4 separate regions of the Homo sapiens genome follow, and regions 1, 2 and 3 are each linked to region 4. The links are contacts of gene promoters, found by promoter capture Hi-C in human tissues and cell types (Jung and others, 2019). All regions are on one chromosome and are shown on one strand. The core of a region is centred on a gene start or on the middle of the fragment in contact, and the rest is flanking DNA. Distances in the headings are between cores, read along the strand shown. Region 1 has its middle 5.8 kb from the start of NICOL1. Region 2 overlaps NSD2 (nuclear receptor binding SET domain protein 2). Region 3 overlaps LOC124900839. Region 4 holds the start of ZFYVE28 (zinc finger FYVE-type containing 28).

Evidence for each region. The method cuts DNA at HindIII sites, captures the fragments that hold promoters and counts their contacts. A contact is called where the count stands out against the background at its distance.
Region 1: a contact is called between a fragment that was not itself captured here and the fragment with the promoter of ZFYVE28 in region 4, in 1 of the 25 tissues and cell types used here (H1 embryonic stem cells).
Region 2: a contact is called between a fragment that was not itself captured here and the fragment with the promoter of ZFYVE28 in region 4, in 1 of the 25 tissues and cell types used here (dorsolateral prefrontal cortex).
Region 3: a contact is called between a fragment that was not itself captured here and the fragment with the promoter of ZFYVE28 in region 4, in 1 of the 25 tissues and cell types used here (spleen).

What each region holds. Positions count from the first base shown.
Region 1 is chr4:2,046,187-2,049,343 of GRCh38, forward strand. No RefSeq gene overlaps it. Among named protein-coding and RNA genes, the nearest start is that of NICOL1, 5.8 kb to the left of the region's middle. The HindIII fragment of the contact is 3,213 bases long and covers 13-3,157 here.
Region 2 is chr4:1,921,675-1,924,591 of GRCh38, forward strand. The region is part of intron 5 of NSD2 (nuclear receptor binding SET domain protein 2); the gene reads left to right. Among named protein-coding and RNA genes, the nearest start is that of NSD2, 52 kb to the left of the region's middle. The HindIII fragment of the contact is 6,257 bases long and covers 1-2,917 here.
Region 3 is chr4:2,016,468-2,019,281 of GRCh38, forward strand. It overlaps LOC124900839, which reads right to left. Exons shown (of 4, transcript XM_047416543.1): 3 at 1,203-1,275. Among named protein-coding and RNA genes, the nearest start is that of NELFA, 8.9 kb to the left of the region's middle. The HindIII fragment of the contact is 5,535 bases long and covers 1-2,814 here.
Region 4 is chr4:2,417,312-2,420,108 of GRCh38, forward strand. ZFYVE28 (zinc finger FYVE-type containing 28) reads right to left here and starts at 1,334. Exons shown (of 13, transcript NM_020972.3): 1 at 974-1,334. The coding sequence starts at 1,012. It overlaps CFAP99 (cilia and flagella associated protein 99), which reads left to right and starts at 1,644. Exons shown (of 16, transcript NM_001193282.4): 1 at 1,644-1,782. RefSeq lists an enhancer at 1-53 and silencers at 1,059-1,218, 1,339-1,568, 1,809-1,858. The HindIII fragment of the contact is 18,624 bases long and covers 1-2,797 here.

The DNA.
Region 1 (3,157 bases), core at 369-2,868, 370 kb before region 4:
GGAGGGACACTGTGTCTGCTTGTCTGGAAGGCGGCTGCTGCCACAGTCCATCTGCAGGTCACCCTTCCTACCGCAGGGCCTGTGCATGTGCCCTCTGCAGGGACGCATCCCTTGCCCTGGGACCGGCCTCACTCTGCAGCCCTGTGTCCCTCCTTAAATAGTTTATTTTTAAGAGAGGGCCTTGCTCTGTCGCCCAGGCTGGAATGCAGTGGCCTCATCACAGCTCCCTGCAGCCTCAACCTCCCAGGCTCAAGCAATCCTCCTCACTGGGCCTCCTGAGTAGTGGGGCCCACAGTGCCGGTACCAGCCCACAGAGCCCAGAGCCTGTAGCTGGGTCCCCAGCGCACGCCGACACACCCAGCCCCGCATTTTCTTCTAAGCGTTTGTCCCTGAGGGGTCCCGGGGTGTTTGTTTCTTTCCTCCCTGCCACCCCACACTGGATTGTGAAGCCCAGGAGGGTGAGATCTGCTCTTCCCAGGCGCCCCTGCAGGCCGCGCGCTCCCCCAGTGGAAGCTGCAGGGAGGCTGCCTGGGCCAGGGCTCTGGGAGGAGCTGGCTACAGGGGTCCCCCGCAGCCCCTCCCTTCCTGCTCTGGGGGTCTTTGGGACGCAGGGCTGCATGGGGTGTGGTTTTGGGCCATCTTCCCATGGAAGATGCGGGGTAGGGCGAGCCTGGGGCCTTGGGCGCCTTTCTGCCACTCCCACCTCCCGGCCTCCTGTGGAGCCCCGTTAGGCGCCCTGTGGGCCTGGGGACCGTTTTGCTTTTCCTCCTTCTTCCTCTGGCCTCCCGGTCTGTAGTTCCACTTCATAAGAGACCTCGGCCCGCCCCCCGCCCCGTCTCACCCGCAGCTCCGTTCCACCCCGCCCTGCTCCCTCCCACCGTGGCCAGACCCGCGCCGTCCTGGGGTTCCCCTGGGCTGCTCGGCGGCTCCCCGCGCCCCTGTTCTTCCTCCCCACGGACTCGGGCTCGGGGCGTTCGCGGCGGGATAGGAGCGCCCCGACGGCGTTGGAGGAGACCCCGCAAGTCCGGCCTGGGCGTGGGCTCGCGGGTCCCCGCTCTGCCGTGGGTGGGGCTGCACTGCCCACGTCCGCTGCGTTGGGTGTGCCCTCCTCGAACCTGAGTATCCAAGCGGCGGAGGCCCGGGCGCCTCTCAGCTTGGCATCTGAAATCCGGACGGTCTCGGCCGCTCCGCTCCCAGGAAGGCGAGGCCTGCATGGGCCAGGCGGGGCGCGGGGGCAACTGGGGCAGGGGCAGGGGTCTCCGGTGAGGAGGGCGCTCAGGGAAGCAGGAGACAGAGGCGGAGGTGGGCGGCCAGGGAGGACCGACAGGTCTGGGTTTCCGCTCTTGCCCCACAGGCTGACCTGACCGAGCCTCAGTTTCCTCCTCTGTAAAATGGGCCCTTGGCGACAGCCTGGGGCTGATATAGGCGCTCTGCTGCTGGCGCTGGGAGCACCGTGTGGCCTACGGGGTTCTCCCCTTGTCGTGGGGAGGGGCTCTAGGCCCCCCAGCCCCCACCCAGAGCAAGTACCATGGTCTCCCAGACCTTCCAGGCTGCTTCCTGGAGCCCAGCCCTGACCCTTCCAAGCTGACGGTGTTCTGGTGCCTTCCAGGTACCTATGAACCCGGGGCTGGAGCACAGGCCTCAGCTGACCATCAGGGCTACTGGGGGTCACATGGCCACGGGCTTTGGGTGACTTGTAGGGGCTGGAGGGTGAGGCCAGGCAGGCTGGTGGGAGGGAGTCTGCAGATGGAGACTGGAAGGGCCACCAAGGCGTGCTGAGCAGGCCTCTGTCTCTGGGCCTGGCTGCTGGGGCCGAGCAGTGGCAGGCTCAGGCTGAGGCTGTGGGGATGAGGTGGAGAGGGCAGGGGCCGGCAGAGGCTGTGGCCCTGTAAGGGCTGGACCGCTCTCCTCAGAGGTCACTCAGGCCTTGGGGTCTGGGTGGGGACACTGCTCAGGAGCTCCTGGACAGTGACCATGGCTTCTCCCCTCTCCTGGCCCCCATCAGAAGCATGACAGCCTGTTCCCCCAGTCTCTGCTCTGGAGCCCCAGGCCCCCATTCAAAGCCCAGCCTCATCTTCCTCCAGCCCCCTGGCTCTCCAGGCGCGCCAGCCCCTCACTTGCCTCCACTGCCTGGTTTTTCCTGCCCGGACCCCTTGCGTGCTGATCCCTCTGCTGGGACGCCCTTCCTGCCGTCCACGTGGCCGACCTTAGGACGACACTGCGGAGCTGCCCCTGTGGCTGGGCAGGGACCCTGGTCAGCACTTGAGCGTCGGGTGCAGGGGTTGTTGAATGGATCAGCGAGTTCCTTCGAGATTGTCCATGACCCACGTTGCCTCCCTGGAAGGCGTGAACCTAAAGGGTTGCCCTGACCCTGTGCCCCGGCGCCGCAGTCCTCAAACCTGGCTCCGGTAAACTCTCCACTTCACATTAATTTTGCCTCAGTTTTTTCCCTTTAGGTCAACATATCTGGCATAAGTCAGCAGGCTTCAGTGACCCTCTTCCCTGACCACCTGGGGCTCCTTCCAGGACTTGGGGGTGGTATGAGCAGGAACCCACCATGCTCCCCTCACTCCAGAGGTTTCCTGGGTGCACAGGGGTGAGTCCTCCTGAATTCAGAGCTTTGTTTTCTTTTTGGTTGACATCTAGATTTTATTTGGAGTGTTTTTTAAACCTGCTTTTAACAGAAAGAGGGCTTCAGTCTCTGTCTTTGGACAGGGGACTCAGATAAACAGAGAACTCCGCCTTCTCTGCCACTGCCTCAGGGCAACGGGTTTAGGGCCTGGTATGGGCACCAGTCTGGCACTGGTGGTTTCACATCTTTGGGCCTAAAGTTACACAGCAAGCTTTAAAAATTGCAACTGCTGGGCTGGGCGCGGTGGCTCATGCGTGTAATCTCAGCACTTTGAGAGGCCAAAGTGGATGAATCACCTGAGGTCAGGAGTTCAAGACCAGCCTAGCCAATATGGCGAAACCCCATCTCTACCCAAAATAAAAAAATTAGCTAGGCACAGTGGCACGCACCTGTAATTCCAGCTGCTCGGGAGGCTGAGACATGAGAATCGCTTCAACTCAGGAGGCAGAAGTTGCAGTGAGCCAAGATGGTGCCATCGCACTCTAGCCCGGGCAACACAGCGAGACTCTGTCTCAAAATAATAAT
Region 2 (2,917 bases), core at 418-2,917, 500 kb before region 4:
GAGAGGTTGAGAAAGGAGAATCGGTTGAACCTGGGAGACGGAGGTTGCAGCGAGCCAAAATCACGCCAATGCACTCCAGCCTGGGCAACACAGCAAGACTCTGTCTCAAAAAAAAAAAAAAAAAAAGAATAAGACAGGAAACCATTTTTCACCATTTAATAAACGTTGTACGGAAAATAGTAGCCAATATTAGGCCGGGCGCGGTGGCTCACGCCTGTAATCCCAACACTTTGGAGGCCGAGGTGGGTGGATTACTTGAGGTTAGGAGTTCCAGACCAGCCTGGCCAACATGGTGAAATCCCATCTCTACTAGAAATGAAAAAATTAGCCAGGCGTGGTGATGCGCGCTTGTAATCCCAGCTACTCAGGAGGCCGAGGCAAGAGAATTGCTGGAACCTGGAGGCAGAGGTTGCCGTGAGCTGAGATCACACTACTGCACTGCAGCCTAGACAATAGAATGAGTCTTCGTCTCCAAGAAAATACTAGCCAGTATTATAAAGGAATAAATAAAGCTGTCATTGTTTGCAGAAGTCTATGTAGAAAACTCAAGAGAATGTACAGAAAATCTTTTAGAATTAATAGAGTTCACCAGGATATAAAATTAACATACAAGTGCAGCATCAAAGAGGAAATGTAATGTTAAAAAAGATACCATTGATAATAGAAACCAAAATGTCAGGTACTGCGGAATCAATATTACGAAATATGCATGTAACTTTAGAGAAAAATAACTGATATTTTAGCAGACCTCAATAAAGATGTATTTATATATAGGAAGATTCAAGCTTCTGAAGTTGTCAATTCTCCCTTTAATAATCTATAAATTCAGTATAATTCTAATAAAACTTCCAACAGGAATTTATTTGCCCTTTGTAAGTGGATGCTGCTGTGGCCACATTTGAAGAGAGGCTTGGCCTGAGGATTTGCTCTACCAGATAGGAAGTTATCTTATTTAAAATAGCAGTATTTGGCCAGGTGTGGTGGCTTACGCCTGTAATCCCAGCACTTTGGGAGGTCAAGGCAGGCGGATCACCGGAGGTCAGGAGCTCCAGACTAGCCTGGCCAACATGATGAAACCTTATCTCTACTAAAAATATAGAAATTAGTTGGGCATGGTGGCAGGCGCCTGTAATCCCAGCTACTCGGGAGGCTGAGGCTGGAGAATTGCTTGAACCTGATAGGCGGAGGTTGCAGTGAGCTGGGATTGTGCCATTGTACTCCAGCCTGGGTGACAGAACAAGATTCTGTCTCATAAAAAATAAAATAGCAGTATTCACGCAGGGCAGTGATATGGCCCAAGACGGGGCCCAGAACAGGCTCTCGAGCATGTGGACATGGATGGGAAAGCGCTGCAGGCCAGTTGCGTGGGAGGTCTGCACTGGACGTGGTGCTGGGACCACTGTGATTTATGAACTTGGCCAGCATGGGAGAGGAGCTTTGTCACCATGGGAGAGGGAAGGATTTCTTAAATAAGCCAAACTAATAACAGGCTATAAAGGCTATAAAACTATGTATGTTAAAATGAAAATCTAGGCCAGGCATGGTGACTCACGCCTGTAATCCCAGTACTTTGGGAGGCTGAAGCGGGAGGATTGCTTGAGCCACTGCACCACTTCAGCCTGGGTGACAGAGACCCTGGCTCAAAAAAAAAAAAAAAAAAAAAATTCTTATGTGTCAAGGACACCATCGACACAGTGAAAGGACAAATTCTGTAAAGAGCCGAAACAATTCTGAAGGAGAAGGGCAAGTTTCTTGGAGAGCCAGTAAGTGCATGAAGAGATGCTGCTCAACTGCGGCCATGCCCAGGAAGCTGTATGTTACGATCCTGGTGGGATGGTCCTTCACAGTCATCCTTCACAGTCATCAGGTGAGCAGACATCAAACTCAGAACAGCCAGGGATTGAGAAGATGAGCAACAGTGGGACTCCTCATACAATGCTGGTGAAACATCATTTATTACACCTGTTTTGAGAGAAATTTGGCAAGATCTAGTGAAATTGAAGATGTGCCTTTTTTTCTCTTACAGTTTTACTCCTAGATATTTACCCTAGAGTAATTTTGCCCTTGCACGCAGAGAGACCACAGTGTCCAAAACCAAAAAGCTACCCAGTGACAGACTATGGTATGTTCCTACAGTGTAACTACACATCAATTAAAGTGAACTCATTGGATGTCAAAGCAGAAACAAATTGCTGAAGGGTATGCAGATTCTATCACTTGTGTAGTTTGAAAAGGGCCACATACCCACAACTGAGTTTAACTTATCCCTTTCTCTGCGTCCATCTAAAAAGTGTAAGTGGGCAGCTGTGAAGGTATGTGCCTCTCTCCAGGAGCCAAGAGGTCTATCCAGGCAGGAGCCATTAACACCTGGTGGAGTAGCTGTGGTCATTGTTGGATATAAAATGATACAAAGCAGGCCAGGCGCAAGGTGGGAGGATCACTTGAATCCAGGAGTTTGAGACCAGCCTGGGCAACATAGCAAGATCTTATCTCTACCAAAAATAAAAATAAAATAAAATGGTATAAAGTAATCAGCAATGTGTGTACAGCCACCGTTTCAGGCATGTTGGGGGAGGGTGCAGTGGCAAGCTCTGAATGGACACTCCAGTGTTTGACAGCTAGGCCTGCGCAGGGTTGGTGAGGTGCTGTATGCTCTTGGGCCCTGGAAGCAGGGTAAGGCGGTGTCGGGTGGGAACCGCCCCGTCAGCCACTCTGGTATGTTGCTCGGCTGTGTCTCTACAACCTGTTCACTAGTTTGGAATTGTGAAAAAAATGGGTACCTGAGAATTGAAGCCACTGTCCAAAGACCACCCTATTGGCTTTTTGGGACCCAAATTGATCTCAGATGGTCCTTCTAGTGCTAAGAAATGTGCTAAAAATGAAAGTCTGGATTGGCACTATACTAAAAGTAATATAA
Region 3 (2,814 bases), core at 33-2,532, 400 kb before region 4:
TCCTCAGGCTTAAGCTTTGAAAATGGCCTTAAAACTCACCAGGATCAGTCAGCTGTGGTGGCTCATGCCTGTGATCCCAACACTTTGGAAGGCCGAGGCAGGTGGATCACCTGAGGTCAGGAGTTCAAAACCAGCCTGGCCAACATGGCAAAACCCCATCTCTACTAAAAATACAAAAATTAGCCGGGCACAGTGGTGGGCACCTGTAATCCCAGCTACTCAGGAGGCTGAGGCAGGAGCATTGCTTGAATCCGGGAGGCAGAGGTCGCAGTGAGCTGAGATCACACCATTGCACTCCAGCCTGGGCAACAGAGCAAGACTTTGTCTCAAACAAACAAACAAATTCACCAGGCTGGTCCTTTCCTCCAAGTTTTTACTTCCCTCCAAAATCCGCTTGCTTTGGTTTATGCTCCAAAGCCTTTAATCAGTGGGAGGGTTGGCCTGTTAGCTATCCCGCCATACTTTTCACTGTTACATGAGTCCATTAAGTGATATGTTTGCTTATTTTTATTCTTATTTTTTTGAGACGGATTCTCACTCTGTCGCCCAGGCTGGAGTGCAGTAGTGTGATCTTGGCTCACTGCAAGCTCCGCCTCCCGGGTTCTGGCCGTTCTCCTGCCTCAGCCTCCTGAGTATCTGGGACTACAAGTCGCCCGCCACCACGCCCGGCTAATTTTTTGTATTTTTATTAGAGATGGGGTTTCACCGTGTTAGCCAGCATGGTCTCGATCTCCTCACCTCGTGATCCGCCCGCCTCAGCCTCCCAAAGTGCTGGGATTACAGGTGTGAGCCACCATGCCCGGCCATGTTTGCTTATTTTTTAAGGTGCCCTAGATCAAATTAAAGAAGTTCCCTTCTATTCCTAATTTGCTACAGGTTTTTAAAAATCATGACCAACATTTAATTTTATCAAATGTTCTTATAAAATGTTTTGTTGTGCATACTGAGATGATTGTATGATTTTTTCACCTTTATTTTGTAAATGTGATGAATTACATTGATTGCCTTTCAAATTACATAAACCTTACTTTCCTAGAATAAGCCCAACTTGGACTATGTTATTCTTTTTTACACGTTGCTAGATTTCGCTTGTTAGTATTTTATCTAGACTACTAATGCTTTGTTCATGAGGAGAGCCTTTACAGTGTTGGGTTAAGTTTATGCAGCCTCTTGCAGTGAGTGGATCCCTCTTCTCACCTTACCTGGGAGAAGCCCTCTAGGTCATCACCACACCAGCAGCCAGTCCTAATCGGCTGCTACGACGGCTCCTGGAAGCTGGAGAAAAAAATGATGACAGAGAAAATGAGGTGGAAGGCTGGGCACAGTGGCTCATGCCTGTAATCCCAGCACTTTGGGAGGCCGAGGCAGGTGGATCATGAGGTCAAGAGATCAAGACCATCCTGGCCAACATGGTGAAACCCTGTCTCTACTAAAAATACAAAAATTAACTGGGCGTGGTGGCTCATGCCTGTAATCCCAGCTACACAGGAGGCTGAGGCAGGAGAATCGCTTGAACCTGGGAGGTGGAGGTTGCCGTGAGCTGAGATCGTGCCATTGCACTCCAGCCTGGGCACCAAGCGTGAGACTCCGTCTCAAAAAAAAAAAAAAAAAAAGAAAGAAAGAAAATGAAAAAAAAAAAGAGATGGAAAAGACAGAGGGGCCTTGGCAGAATATTGAGGACGGGATGAGAATTGAGACCACCTGTGTCCACTTAACTCTTGGGATCAAGAGCTGAGATCACCTGTGTCAACCTGATTTAATGATTATTTCCAGAAAATTCTTTCCAGGAAGATAAAACTAAATCAGTCAATCACTGTTTGCTTCAGGAAAATCTTGCAGAACAATGTATCCTGGCACATAGTTTACCAATCTGGGAACCAGCTCACTCATCAGAACCTTCATCTGGCTGTGTTTCTCTGTCCTGCACTGTTGGGCCATAAGCTCTGTCCTATCCCAATGAGTCCTTGCACTGAAAGACAGACCATCAACCATCTGAGCCCAGATTCTAAAATCCTATGAGGCCAGGCGCACTTTGGGAGGCTGAGGTGGGAGGATTGCGTGAGCCCAGGAGTTAGAGACCAGCCTTGGCAACACAGCAAGACTCTGTCTCTACAAAACACTAAAAAATTAGCCGGGTGTGGTGGAGCACACCTGTAGTCCCAGCTACTTGGGAGGTTGATGGGGGAGGATTGCTTGAGCCCAGGAGGTTGAGGCTGCAGTGAGCTGTGGTTGCACCACTGCAATCTAGCCCGGGCAACAGAGCAAGACCCTGTCTCTAAAAATAAACAAGTTTTCTGGGAGTCACTGTTGAGTTGTTGGCAGTGAATGGTCCTAAATGTTCCCATGGGATTCGGCTGAGACGGCCTCCCCAGGATGGCCTGAGACCTGCGACTGGAACCAGCACTCTCCCCGTGACCCTCTGGTTTTCTTTTGTGAAAGCTCCTTGTGTTCCAGGATTGAGAAAGCCTTCTTACGTGTGCTTTGATTATCTGATGAGATGAAGATTTTGATCCTTGTGGAAACTACTTTGCTCCTAACAACAATTCTGTGTGTCCGTCTGTCCTTGTCACCTTCTGTTGTGAAGAGCTCCTTGGGAAGAGGATGAACTAACACAGGTCTGAATGTCCCTGTCTCAAGGGCACCAAGGGCCAGTGAGTTCAGATCTCGTGAATCCACTGTTCTTATCTAACAAACTAAGTCCTCATCTGCACCTTCAGTTTTGCCTTGTCTTCAGACAGATTCTCTGCTCACGCCTGTCCTCCTAGGGAGACCCTCAGGTCAGCACTGCCTTCAGTGGAGGGTTTGCAACCCCAG
Region 4 (2,797 bases), core at 84-2,583:
ATCCTGAACACCGCCGCGCCTTCATCCCGCGCCGAGCGCGCCCGGCCCTGCTCCGGCTGCAGCGGGCACGAGCCCCAGGCGGGCGGCGGGGACGCAGCGCCCGCAGTGCGACTGGCGCAGCCGCTGAGGCACGGGGCGCGCCGCCCGGACCCCGACCCCGCGGCGCTAGGAGAGGCGCGGGCGCCGGCTGGAGAGCCGCACCTCCCGCCCCGCCGAGGCTGCTGGCCACGGGCGCGCTCGCCCCAAGGGCCGGGCGGAGGACCTGTCCCGGATTCCAGAGGACGTGGGTGGGGAAGGGACAAGGATAGGGACAAGGGAGGGGACGCGAACTGGGCCGAGGTGTGGGTCAGTCCTGGTTCGGGAAGGGAGGCCGTTGGCAGGGCCATCAGGATCCTCTCTGGACATGGAAGGACGGGTCTGCCCTGGACCCAGGGATTGGGAAATGTGGGTTCTCTCAGAACCTGGGGAAGTGGGGAGAGGGTCTGTTCTGGAGTGCGGAGGGAGATCTATTCCGGGCCCAGGACAATGGGGGTGGGGGCAGGACGGGAATGAGGGGGCATTCCTGGTGCAGGGAGGGGAGACGGAGAAGTAGTAGGGGGTCTGCTCCGGGCCCGCGGGCTGGGGACCACGAAGTGTAGGAGGGCACCGTCCAGGACCGGGATGAGGAGGGAGAGGGGCCCGTTGTGGCCCTGGATAGAGGGGGAGGGAAAGTGCGCCCCGGCCCGAGAGGAGGAGCAGGAGGGTCAGTCCTGGACCCGGGCTTAGGAAGCCGGGAGGGAGGTTCGGATCCGCCTCAGAGACAGGGCGATGAAGATCTGTCCAAGTCTTGGAGTGGAGGGAAGGATGTCGGCGGTGGGGGAAGAGGCCGGCCACGGACAGGGAAAGGGAGTCCGTCTTGTAGGGCGGACGGGCGGTCCTGGGGAAGGGAGAGGCCGCGACGCGGGGGGCGTCCGGCCCGAGCGGGGCCGCTCACCTTGGGTTTGTAGAGCCACTTTCGGAACCTGTTCATCATCGCCGCGCCGGCCCTGGCCGGACTCCGGGCGGCCCTCGCCCTCCGCAGCGCTGCGCCCGGGCCCGGCTGAGGCGCGGGGCGGACGCGGAGGCACGGCCGGAGCCCCCGCGCTGTCGCAGGGAGGCTGGCTAGCGAAGCCCGGAGCGCCGAGCGGGCGGCGGGCAGGTGCGCGGGGCAGGTGCGCGGCCCTGAGTATGCTCTGCAAGCGGCGCGCCGGGCAGACCTCAGACCCGGGAGTGGGCGCTCGGGCGCACGGACAGACGCGGGCACGGGGGCGCGCGGCTCCTCGCTGCTCACTGACACCCAGCGCTCCGCTGGTCACGGCCGCCCCGCGCCGCACATGCGCCTAGGGCGCCGCGAGCCCCGGGCCCACCGCGCGCTGCGGGCGGGGCGGGCGGGGCGGAGGCGGCCCAATCCCTGCGCGGGCGCCGCACCCCGCCCGAGGCGCGCTCCCTGCCGGCGGGGCGACCCGCCGCGCCCGGGTATCCAAGAAACTACAAGTCCCGAAAGGCATGGCGGGGAGGTGGCGCCCAGGGCTTGGCGTCCCGGGCCGCGCCGCGGCGCTGTGTATTGTGGGAGTTGTAGTCCACCCGATGGCGGCGGAGCGTGCCGCCGGTTGCTAGGTGACGACGCCAAACAGCCGCGGCGTCCTGCCTACCGGGAGCTGACGGACGACGACTGCCAACACCTTAGCCCCAGCTGGCCCAGGAAACTGCTGCGGTGGCAGGTGGCGGCGGCAGGAGGGCTCGGCTGCCCCGAGCGCCCGCCAGGTACGGGGGCGGGACAGGTGCGGGGCGACGCGCCGCCGATTTTCATGACCTGCCGGCCGGTTCCCTCTCGCTCGCTGCTCATCTTGCTTCTCCCAAACACCTCTTCTGTCTTCTTCCCAGCTCCCCGATGAAAGTGAACGGTGCCTCTTTTTTTTTTTTTAAATCACCACTATCAGCGGTGCGTTCTAAAAAGATACTCTTCCGCCCTCGCTACTCCCCCCAGTGGTGCCCTAATTTGTACCTTAAAACGCTCACCTCAATCTGAGTACCTGCTATGTGTCAAGCAGAGAGCTAAAAACCCACACGTGGCCTCACTTAAACTTCCCATTGACAGCCAGAGAAGCAGGCACAACGAGGCCGGCGTGCCCTGGCTGTGGGGGTTGCATCCAGATCACGGCGGATCTGGGTCGGCCTGACCCCACAGCGCTGCACTTTTCCCTGCCGCACCACCACCACGTCTCTGGCTTGTTGTGAAACGTGCAGATGTAAGACACAGGAGATGGAAGTCATGCCCCCCTCGGTTCAGAATTGAGAAGTCTGACCTGTTCCTGCTTGTCCTCACTGGCCAGTGCCAGGTGCTCAGAAAGGTCCGTGGGCTCCATGACCACTTTATTCCAACAGACGCGATGTGAGCCTAGGCGCGCTGGCATCTAAGATTTCTCTTAGTTGGGGGTAGGGTCCATGTTTATTTTTGAGTAACTGATTGATTTTCCCTACTCTCCTCTTCCTACCACCCAGTCGACCCTCTGAAGGGCAAAACCCCTCTGGAGTTTCCCCTTATCTCCAATTCCTTCCCACTTGTTCTTTCTGGAAACTACTCCCATCAGATTTTCACCCAACCACTCCTCTGAAGCTCTTTATCAAAGTCATCCTTGACCTTGATGTTGCAAAATCCGATGATCGGGGTCAGCGCTCATCTCTTCCTTGAACTGTCACTACCACGTGACCCAGCCGACTGTGCCCTCTCCGTGACACAGCATCCTCACTTGGCTGAAACAGATCCCACTGTCCACTT